Regions from separate parts of the Homo sapiens genome. Here region 2 is linked to region 1. The links are contacts of gene promoters, found by promoter capture Hi-C in human tissues and cell types (Jung and others, 2019). All regions are on one chromosome and are shown on one strand. Each heading gives the region's core, a stretch centred on a gene start or on the middle of the fragment in contact. The rest is flanking DNA. Distances are from core to core; before and after follow the strand shown.

Region 1 (6,102 bases), core at 3,603-6,102:
AGGCATGAGCCACAGCGCCCAGCCGCTTTGTTTTTTTTTAAGAATTTGACAAAATGATATTAAACTTCATTAGAAAATTAAACACATGAGGGCTGGTCACAGTGGCTCACACCTGTAATCCCAGCACTTTGGGAGGCCAAGGCAGACAGATCACTTGAGGTCAGGAGTTTGACCAGCCAGGCCAACATGGTGAAACCTCGTCTCTACTAAAAACAGAAAACTTAGCCGGGTGTGGTGCAGGTGCCTGTAATCCCAGCTACTCAGGAGGCTGAGGCAGGAGAATAACATAAACCTGGGAGGCGTAGGTTGCAGACAGCTGAGATCACGCCACTGCACTCCACCTTGGGCAATGGAGTGAAACTCAGTCTCAAAAAAAAAAAAAAAGAAACAGAAAAAGAAAAACACATAACATGAAAATTTTAAAAAAGAATAATTAGTGAACATAATTTGACCAGACACTAAAACATGTTATACTGCTAGAGTAATTAAAACATTATGCCACAGGGGTAGAAATAAGTAGTCAGATCGTTAGACTAGAAACCAAAAGTAGACTCAAATACACAAAGAAATAGGGTTTATGATAAAAATCACATTACAAATCAATAGGCAAAAGATGGACTAAATAATACTGTTCAATAAATTATGCTGGCTTAACTTGCTGGCTGTTCAGAAAAAAAGTTAAGCCAGATTGCTACCTCATTCCTTTCTCCAAAATAGAGTATGGTGGCTCAAAATTTTTTAAAAAAATATAGCTAAATACATTATAGTCTTGGTGTAGGCAAGAAATATTTTCAAGTAGAATAGAAAACTCACAAGCCCTAAGAAAAAAATTGATAAACATAATTGCATACAAGTAAAAAGGTCTCTACAACCAAAAGAATTGTTGTAAGTACTAACATTTTTCCAAAAAATAAATAGAAAAGAAGGTTTGTATCAGGAGCTAATTTTCTATCAAGAGTATATACAATAAAAAAGAAAAAGACTCAAAAAATTTAAATGTATAAAAGATGCTAAATCTCACTAGTAAATTTTAAACGGCAAATCAAACTAATGAGATACCATTTGTCTCCTATCACACTGTCAAGATTTTTAGAAGTTTGATAATAGTGTTAAGAGAAATAAGCACTCTGAGACAACATGAGCGAAAGCGTAAACAATCTTTGTGAGGAATTATTAGTCAAAATCTACCAAATGCCCATTCCCTTTGTCTCTGTAATTCTACTGGTAGGCATTTACTTTACATATATAATCAAAAAAAGCACACTTAGATTTATATTAACAGAACATAAAAGAAAAACCATCATCTCGATCGATGCAGAAAAAGCATTCACAAAAAATTCAACATTTATTCAAAATTTAAAAACAACAACAAAAATCTCTCAACAGACTAGAAAGTGAAAGGAACTTCTTCATCTGATACAGGAATCTAGGAAAAACCTGAAGTTAACACCACACTTAATGGTGAAAAACCGAATGCTTTCACCTTAAGATCAGAAGCCAAGGATGTCTGCTCTCATCATTTATATTGAATACTGTGGTGAAGCCAGAATAATAAGTCAAGAAAAAGAAAATTTAAAAATCCAGATTAGAAGGGAAGAAGTAAAATGGGCTTAATTTGAAGATTACATGATTATCTATTTAAAAAACTGATGGAATTTATAAAAACATTACTAGAACTAATTAGTGAGTTTATCAGAATTACAGGATACAAACAAGGTCAATATTTTAAATTCAATTATATTTCTACATACTAGAAAGGAAAACTTTTCAACAGTGCTAAAACAATTGTAGAGCAATATGCAAAAAGAAAAAAAGAATCTTTATCCTTACACCACATATAAAAATTAACTTTAATCATTAAACAGATGTAAGAGCTAAAACTCTATTAAACTTGAAGTAGATAGACATACAAGATTGTTCACTATAGTATTATTTTCAGTAGAAAACCAGATACAACCTAGAGGCCCATCATCATGGAGAGATTATCTAATAAATCATAATAGTTACATAAAATTAAATACAATGTAGCCACAGGTAACCACCAAAAAGAAAAAAGGTAAATTTTCTGCCAATTAATATGGAAAGAATGCCAAATATACAATTAAGATTTGTTTTAAAAGTGTTGAATAGTGTATAGAGAGGACAATTTTTGTGTAAATACAAAGAATATTTGCATTTCTAGTCATTTTATGTGTATATTTGTGTGTATGTCTCTATGTATGTGTATATCCTTATATACATTTTTCCAGAAGGCTACACAGGAAACTCTTAAACTTTAGGGAGAGGTGGTAAAAATCAGAGAGTTTGGAAAAGAGAGAAATTTATATGCTTTTTAAAATTATTACACATTTTTAGTCATGTTTTTTGCTAGTGCATATGTTATTCTACTTTTTAAAATAAATATTTTTTAAAAAAACATATAAGAGATCTCTACAGAGGAGACTATTATGACCCAAATGTGTGCTGAAGTCAGAGGATAGCAGAAACCATATGAAACAGAGGCTCATCCTGAGAAGAAAAAGAAAACAGAGAAATAAGAAACTGAAAGGACCATGCTTGAGAGAGTGAGACAAAGAGGATTAGTGAGTGGGTTCACTGTGAATTCTACATCTTGGCCCTCTGAGGCCTGCTAAGCTTTGCTGTCTGTCCTTGTAACCCATGAAATTTCCTACTGCATTCTTCCAAGCAGCCCCTCTTTTCATGAGCTGATTTGAGTTTCTCGTGAGCTAGTTTTAGTTCCTTAACAACCCCAAATTGGTCTAGTCTGATCCCTTGTTGAATACCCTGAATTAGTCCCTAACGGAGGTACAGCCTTACCTTGTTGAAAGTAAAGCACTCTGCAGCATGCACCCTGTGAATGTCTGCAGTTAGTCAAGCCTAGCGAGCATGATTTAAATAGAAACTTGCCCAGCAACATTTTATACTCATTAGAAAATTCATGATGAAGATTTCCATTGCTCAGTATGCTATTCAGAATATTTTTTCTAGATGTTATAGTATGGTATATATGAATCACAAATCATAGAATGCTTTCAAATCTAGAGAATAGATTTTAGAAAGAAGAAATCGGAAACCTGAACTGTGAAATGTCAGAGGAAATCTGTACAAATATTAAATATAACACCCAGAGATACACAGAATAAGGAAACACATACCATACAAGCGTGAGTAAATTAGAGAATAATTCCAAACCAATACATAAGCAAGTGCATAATAGTTGTGTTAGTCCATTTTCTGCTGCTGTAACAGAATACCACAGACTGCATCATTTATAAACAATAGAAGTTTATTTGGCTCATGGTTCTGGAGGCTGGGAAGTCCAAGATCAAGGGGCCACATCTGGTGAGGGCCTTCTTGCTGCATCATAACATGGTGGAAGGTCTCACATAGTGAGACAGGGCAAGAGAGTGAGAGCTCAAGAGAGAGAAAAAGGAGACTGAACCTATCCTTTTACTAGGAGCCGTCTCCCACAATAACAGCATTAATCCATTCATAAGGGCAGAGCCCTCATGACCTAGTCACCTCTTAAAGGTCCCATTTCTTCTCACAATGGCAATTAAATTTCAACATGATCTTTGGAGGGGACATTCAAACCATAACCATGGTAAAGACGTAAGAGTAGGAACTGGCTTCTTCACAAACCACCTATCTGGATGCTGCTAGATAGGGCCTGTTCAAGTATAGCTCAAATGTCTTCTCTTCTAGGAGGCCTTTCCTAATTTTCCCACTAGAACTGACCTTTATGGTTCCACTGATTATGTACTCTTTTCCTTTCTTTAAATTTTATTTTATTTTAAGTTCCAGGTTACATGTGCAGGACGTGCAGGTTTGTTACACAGATAAACATGTGCTATGGTGGGTTGGCTGCACCTATTAAGCCCCCCATGCATTAGCTATTTATCCTGATGCTCCAGGGGAGACACTCAGGACTGGCATTTGACAGAGCTTGGTAGAGGAATCCAATGATCTCTAGGTTGATCTCTAAGTTCCATCTCTAATGTTCTATGGATTTTAAACCTTGAATATACAAAATTACTGAGAGGAAGAAAAGAATCATGGCATAATGGAATTTATCTACTATTGTTTACATTGTCATGTTACCAAATTAACAAATCTGTCATGATATTGCAGTCACTAAGGAACAATACATACCCACAGCTCTTACAAATGATTAACTAAATGATCAGATTTTTCATTTCCCCACCAAAGCATGAGGAAATTTATCTTAGCTTTAGCTGCCTGAAACCTCTCTTGGGTGAAAAACATTAAAAACATCTGCAAATTACTGATGACTAATGCCCTTCAATTTGGCCTCAAGCTGAGAAATTCTGTGCAGAAATAAAGTGGTTTATAATCCCACAGGTCCATTCTATTATAAACTGCAGGTGGCAAATCAAGTGACTATGAACTATGCTGTGTGTATGTGTGTGTGTGTGTGTGTGTGTGTGTGGTGTGTGTCTGTGTAAAAAGCAATACTCAAGAGGGTGTTTATCCTACTCCTTCAAGAGAAATTTAACCACCCAGACAAAAGGCAAATGCTAACTGAGAGGACCCAGGAATCTGGGTGATGTCAGACAGAGGCCCAAAGCCAGAGTGGCTGTCATCCCCCTCCACTGCCCACCAGCCAGGGCAGCTGCATCTGCCCTTTGCAGAAAAACAATCTAAAGCAAGCACAGAAGAAAGCTGGAAGGAAAATAACTGCAACTCACATCGATGACCTATTTTCTGAATCCGGCTTATGAGAGATTGGATTCTCATTCCTCCAAAAACCAGCAGAACACTTCAGGCCCAGAAAATGGTGTCTTTGATGACTAGAATGTATGACACATCATTACCAAAGGACTTTCGATCTAGGTTCCAAGAGGTGTTAGCCTCAGATGACTATTGTGGGAGGAGCTGATAAATCCACCAAATCCTTGGTGACTTTGCTTCACTATTAGGCAAGATTAAGATGATGCTAATTGGTAGTGAGCCTGATCTATTTAGTGTCTCCTACCAGGACACAGAGCAGAATCAAAACCATTCTCACAGATCCTGTTTGCATGTCATTTAACAGTTCCAATGTGATATTCCCCCAACCTTTTAAAGTTCCTTCATTCCAGATTAAATTCCTTCATTCCAAATGCTGCACAATCAAAACTAATCATCTTTTTGTGAGCAAAGGGCATAATCAAAGCATGTAGTCAGGGTCACTTTTCTGAACTGCAGATAAACCCAGGGGAAACACCATGAGTTTCTGATCTGAATTACCAAGCAATGAAACAGTGACTATTCAACAGTGACTATTCATTCAGTAGCATGCCCTGGGCTATATACAGAACAGTAGGTTAAGAGGAGGCAGGGGGTGGGGGGGTGGTGCTGGGCATGGTGGATCACGCCTGTAATCCCAGTACTTTGGGAGGCCAAGGCTCGTGGATCACCTGAGGTCAGGAGTTCGAGACCAGCCTGGCCAACATGGGGAAACCCCATCTCTACTAAAAATACAAAAATTAGCAGGGTATGGTGGTGTGCGCCTGTAATCCCAGCTACCAGGGATGCTGAGGCAGGAGAATTGTTTGAACCTGGGAAACGGAGGTTGCAGTGAGTAGAGATTCTGCCACTGCACTCCAGGCTGGGCAACAAAGTAAGACTCCATCTCAAAAAAAAAAAAAAAAAAAAAAAAGGGAGAGAGGGGAAGTGAGAAACAGGAGGGTAGGGTCCCCAGAAAGCTTCTTTTCTGGCCAGCTAACATGACACATAGGCCCATGTGAAATAGTTGAAGACTGTGCAATAACACTGGATAAGCTATATCCATCAATTCTGAGGAGGAGTCAGTTCAACCCAGGACCAAGACTTGAGTGGGAATGCTTCCTGGAGCAGATAAATCTAGGTACAGTTTTGAATGAAGAAGTGAAAAGGATTAGTGTAGATGAGGCAGGAGAGAAACCCAGAGCCAAGAAACAGCACACAGAGAATGCAAATATGAAGAAGGTGATTTAAAGGACAGCGATCTTACTCCCGCTAGTCAATAATGGCCTTTGTGTTTCCATTTACTGTCATAAGAATCTTAAGAATGGGGATAATGTGTTCTATCTTCCTATATTTCCTACAGTATTTGCACAT
Region 2 (5,822 bases), core at 581-3,080, 750 kb before region 1:
ACATAAAGAAAATACAAACTCATTTTATGTCGGAATGCAGTCACTAAGTTGGAATCCTTTTGATGTGTATGGCTTTCTTTCAAACACGCGACTTTTTTTTTTTTTTTTTGCTTATTAACACTAATGTGTTTTACTGAGTTTCCCTGAGTGCATGTATTATAAAAATATCATGAATCCCCAAGGATTCATGACCACAATCGGTCACTGTGAGAAACAGCTGGTAATACTGGGTAACATCCCAGGGTAGAGAACTCAAAATCAGACCAGATAATAGAAAGAAAAGCACAGCTTTCACCTCACATTTGGGAACTGACAATTCTCCTTCCATTTCCTCTCTCAGTGTGGCTCTTGGGTGTTTGGTTAGCAGAAGGGGATAGGAAGATAATACGGTTTATTTATAGGCTCCCTTTTCCTTTCGGGGAAAAAAAAAATCACCCTTTCCTACTAAGAGTATGGCAGAGGAGGGATTTTTAGTGTAATGGAAAGGCAATAGACACGATAATCCGGAAGATCAGAAAGATGATCTGTCTCAGCCCTATCACATAGACAGCTGGGCAATTTAAGAATGTGTCTCACCTAAAACATGGGACCCAGGGCAGGAAATGAAGGTAGCACCAGGAAGTGCACTCTCTTACTTTCAGTGAAAACGTTCTTGCCTGTGAGGAGCTAATATTGAGTGACACTCTATTACACCCCTAAATGGCGCTACACGCTGCGGCCACTCTGTTGACTGTTCATGTTAACACTCACACAGGTGTCACAGCAAACAACCATCAATGCTACTTCTAAAGTCGCCCGGTTCCATGAGGAAAAGACCACATGCTTTGTACCACCCAGGCCCAGGCCGTTCATAGGTAGGGGCTTAGCTGACGCCTTTTGAGATACTATGTTTCTCTGCGTCCTGGAAGTTAAGCTAGGGTTGTTTTCCTTTATATACTCCGATTTTTAAAAAAAATTTCTCTGCACTACCTCTTTACCACTGTGGATCTAAACCTTATAATCTAAACCACACCCTCAGCAATCGGAACAGAACGGAAGTTCCCACTCCAGGAAATCTTGAGAAGGTTTGGGAGGGTCAGGAGTGGCACGGGAAAGGAAAAGTCTGGTCAAAATCAAGTCTGTTTAAGTCCGTCGAACCTACTTCCAGGCCATTTGGTTTTCCGTCTCCTGCCCTGCTGGTCTTTCAGGCCACTCGGCCGGCGCCGAGGTGATTTAACACCTGCCGCCGCAGGCCCCGCCTCCGGACTGCGGGTCCGGATCCCTCTCCTAGGAAAGCGCAAAGGCTGCCTTCACAGTCACCACTTTGGAGACGTTGCCTCCGCGCCCTTCCTAACTTTGGAAGCTAAAAATGAGGGGGGGTGGAGGAGAGAGAAGGCCGTGCGGAAAAAGAGCAAGGTTGTCCCCCCTTCCCAGGGCCGCCCCCTGGCCGAGTCGCCGGCAGCCGCCTCCAGCTCCAGCCCGTCCTCCTACAGCCGCGGACCCCGTGCCCAGGGCGCTCCGCGGAGGTGGGATGCGAGCGGCCTCCGGAACCAGCCTCGACCAAGGCAGCGCCCGCGACCGCCGCTCCTTCGCGGGATCGGGCCTGGCTGCCCCGTGAAGGAGCCCATGGGGGCCTCCGCCTCCCCGCGGCCGGCCCCGCCTCCAGCCCGCAGCTCCCCGGCCGCCGTCGGAGCCCTTACCCGCAGAACGTGGTAGCCCTCGGTGCCCCCGCCCGGGATCTCGACGCTTTGCGAGGAGCCCATGGCGGCGGGCGATCGGTGTGGCCGAGCCGGGCTCCGCGCTGCTCCCGCCCCCAGCGCACCGCCTGCTCTAATCCTCCGCGTAGCACTTGGGACGTGGCACTCGCTGCCGCCGGAGAGCCGGGCCGCACAGCCCGCCGGGAGATCGTCTCTGCTGCAGCCCGGGCCGCTGCGACGCCGCAGACAGCGCCACCTGCCGCGAGCCACTGGAAGGGGCCCGAGCGCTCGCGGGCCGGGAGGGCGGAGAGGGAGGGCCGGAGGAGGACTGGGAGGCACCGCGTCGTGCTCGCGAGAGAACAGAAATGCGCTTCCCCCAGCTTTGGCGCCTTGCTACGGGGCCCTGGATTGGACTAGATTTATGCAGACGCGTTCCCGCTCGCCTGAAAGAACACATACTTGGTTGCAGGTCCCCCTGGTGGCCAGAGGCGGGGAAAGGGCTGCTGATGAACAGGAGCGAACTCAACACACACCAAGCTCTCTGTTCTCCGGGTGTGTAGGTATTTTCCCAAACTGTACAGCTGAGGGGAATAGTGGCCTCCTGTGGGCTGCCTAGCATCTGCTCAGCTAAATTTTATAAAAGGAAACGCTCCCTTTATAAAACAGTAGTCTCACAGAGTCACCTACCAACTTCTTTTTTGGTTTGGGTTTGTTTTTTTTTCTTCCTCCCTAATTGTGAGAATAAGATTAGAGGATTGGTCATAATCAGAGCGATGCCAGCGTGGGAAGCACGGTTGGATTTCCCTGGCATTCCACCACCTGCTGCTGCTCGGTTCCCCGTCCTACCTCCTTCAGGTAGCCAGGTCGTATTCATGCTTATTCCGTTGTCGTATTCCGTTGCTGCTTTTGCCCCTTACGTGTACTCCCTCTGAAACCCCTAGTTGCTTTGTGGTCAGTTGGACTGATGTTGCGTCAACCAGGTATTATGTGGATTCCTATGTGATGCAATGTAAAGTACGTGCTATCGCCCATGAAGTATTCTAGCCCAAGGTGGTTAACTTGCCTCTATGGCATCTTGAGTTTGATGTTTACAGGAAGTAAGGGGAATTGAGGAGCAAGTAAAATGACACCACAGGGAACCAGGCAAATACAGGAAGTGGGCCTTCCTTCAGGACAGCTGGCCAGTTCTCTTTGTCGAGTCAGAGTCCTATGAAAGGGCCTATGCCAGATTAAAAGGAACCCGAAGAATATAACCAAGAGACACATTGCAAGGGCTTGAGTTGGGGGCCAACTTGGAGAAATAAGCGTAAAGGACATTTTTGGTTCATTTGGAGAAATTTGAATATGTACTGAGTATTAGAAGAGTAGTTATTCACATGGAAACGTGGAAATTATTGTCTTTTTTAAAAGCTGGTTACAAGACGGGATGTGTCTGTAGACAAAATGAAAAACATGTCCTCAAAATACAGATTAATATGTATGTATGCATATGAAGATGTGGGAGGAGAATATGAACCAAGGGTTACAGTGGTGATCTCTGGGTGGTGACAGAGATATTTTATTTTTTGTTTTGGCTGGTTCCATATTCTATGATGCTCATGAAGTGCTTTTGTAATAAGAAAATATTATTTAAAATTTAAAAATAATTTTCTTTGCTATCGGTAAGTGAATAGCAGATTTTTAGGAGGCCTAATAAATCCATAAATCCATAAATGAAATCTCCAGTTATTAGGCTCCTCAAGGACAGGGTCTGCAGTGGAGTTGGCTCTATGTTCTTGATATTTACCAGAATGCCTAGCAGCTAATTCAACAAATTAATACATTTAATGCAAGAGAATAAATGGAAGAACTAGATCTAATTATAATGTTCTCATTCTGCTTGGCAATTATAACCCTCTTTATGATGGAAGCTGCTGCCATGTTCAGTGGTCAAAATTTTTGGACCAGTTGTCTCCCATATGTCTGATGGCAGCCGCGGCCTATAGAACCCAGGCTGTGGATCGTTGGTGGTCCATGGGCAAGTCCAGCCCTTCCTTAGAGCTGTAGTGTATGTTTCAGCCTCATGAGTGGCTGCTTGTTATTCTCCACACAAGCCATTTACTTTCTTACCTTCTTGATTTTATTCATGCTATTCTCTACTTCTGGAATGCCCTTCCTTACATTTTCCACTTAAAAAATCCTAACTTTGAAAAAATCCTAATCCTTTAAGTCCCATCTCAAATGTTACTTATTTATCCTTAAGGTCAGTGTGACTCTCTCCTTGCCATGAAACAGTTCCTTCATTTCTATGACATCATCGTCATCATCACAGGCCTGTCTTCCACCATTCGTGGTCCATTCATTCAGAGCAAGGATCATATTTTTTTTTTCCTTCCTTCCTTCCTTCCTTCCTTTCTCTCTCTTTTCTTCTTTCTTTCTTTCTCTCTTTCTTTCTCTCTCTCTCTCTCTCTTTCTTTCTTTCTTTCTTTCTTTTCTTTCTCTCTTTCTCTTTCCCTCATTCCCTCGCTCCCTCCCTTCCTTCCTTCTTTTTTTTCCTTTCTTTCTTGTGAAATGGGTCTCACTCTGTCTCCCAGGCTGCAGTGCAGGGGTGTGATCACAGCTCACTGCAGCCTCCACCTCCTGGGCTCAAAATCATCCCTACCTCAGCCTCCCGAGTAGCTAAGACTACAGGCACGCACTACCACACCCAGCTAATTTTTTTGATTTTTTGCAGAGACGACGTCTCATTATGCTGCCAGGCTTGTTTCGAACTCCTGGGCTCACATGATTCTCCCACCTCAGTCTCCCAAAGTGCTGGGATTATAGGTGTGAGCCACCACACCCAGCCGATCATGTTTTTTCATCTTGAGATCCCCAGTTCCTGGTTGAGTATTGGGAACATGGTAGTAGTGTTTATTGATTTGAATTGAATGTGTGTAATGAATAGCTTCAAAGCCTTTTTTTCAGAATCAGTTAGTAAGTGACCTCTGTGGCTACTATTTGTGTCTCATCAAAATCTGTGGGTTTTTTTTCTTTTTTTTCCTAATTCCCAGGGTGATGGTAAAAACCCATGTTATTTCTTTAGCAGCAGTTGGTGGAGGGTGTGAGGGTGAGGTACAGGGCCCACCTGGTTTGGGACTGAAAAAATGTGAGAATGATTGCTCCATTTTTCCTGGTGCCAGTTGTTTCCTCTTTTAGTTGGAGAATACGCTCCAACAGAAGGCAAATAGTAAAATCTCAAGGATATTGCCAAAGCTAATATAAATAATACAACATGATGGAGGGAACACGTGGTAGATTATTGTCAAGTCAGCTTCAATTGGAGTAAGAATCTGCTGCAGGCAGGTTGGTATTTTGAAACATCAGAGGCAGCAGAAAAGTGAAGTCCAACAGAAGCAAATGTCTACAGGCTAAAAAACCGGAAGTAATCTATTCTTCTGGAAGAAGTATCTGGTACTCAATTTTGTGTGTGTTCTGAGTTCCATTAACATTAATTCTGAGTTCTTCCTTCCCCTCCCTTCCCTTCACCTCCCCTCCCCTCCCCTCCCGTCTTTCCTTCTAATAGAGTCTCTCTCTGTTGCCCAGGCTGGAGTGCAGTGGTATAATTTCAACTTGCTGCAACCTCCACCTCCCAGGTTCAAGCAATTCTTGTGTCTCAGCCTCCCAAGAAGCTGGGATTACAGGCATGCGCCACCATGCCCAGATAATTTTCATATATTTAGTAGAGATGGGGTTTTGCGGTGTTGGCCAGGCTGGTCTCAAACTCCTGGCCTCAAGCAATCTGCCCACCTCAGCTTCCCAAAGTGTGAGCCACCACACCTGGCCAATTCTGAGTTCTTGTAAATAAGTTGTTCATGATGGAGGGATCATTTTTATCATACACATTGAATATCCCTTATCTGAAATGCTTGAGACCAGAAGTGTTTTGGATTTTGGATTTTGGAACATTACTGGTTGAGAATCTCTAATCCAAAAATCCAAAATCCAAAGTGCTCCAATGAGCATTTCCTTTGAGTGTTATATCAGTACTCAAAAAGTTTCCAATTGGAGCATTTTGGATTTTTAGATTATTAATACTCAGCTTGGTATTGGTTAGTGCAGCCTTATCTTTTTGCCTTCAGACTACCCTGAGAAAGTTTGGTTCCTACCATATTTGAATAAGAACCA

Evidence for each region. The method cuts DNA at HindIII sites, captures the fragments that hold promoters and counts their contacts. A contact is called where the count stands out against the background at its distance.
Region 2: a contact is called between the fragment with the promoter of GORASP2 here and the fragment with the promoter of MYO3B in region 1, in 1 of the 25 tissues and cell types used here (mesendoderm cells).

Annotation. Positions count from the first base shown.
Region 1 is chr2:170,176,897-170,182,998 of GRCh38, reverse strand. It overlaps MYO3B (myosin IIIB), which reads right to left and starts at 4,852. Exons shown (of 35, transcript NM_138995.5): 1 at 4,710-4,852. The coding sequence starts at 4,711. RefSeq lists an enhancer at 2,441-2,670. The HindIII fragment of the contact is 10,734 bases long and covers 1-6,102 here.
Region 2 is chr2:170,925,261-170,931,082 of GRCh38, reverse strand. GORASP2 (golgi reassembly stacking protein 2) reads right to left here and starts at 1,830. Exons shown (of 10, transcript NM_015530.5): 1 at 1,680-1,830. The coding sequence starts at 1,742. RefSeq lists a silencer at 1,352-2,051. The HindIII fragment of the contact is 18,146 bases long and covers 1-5,822 here.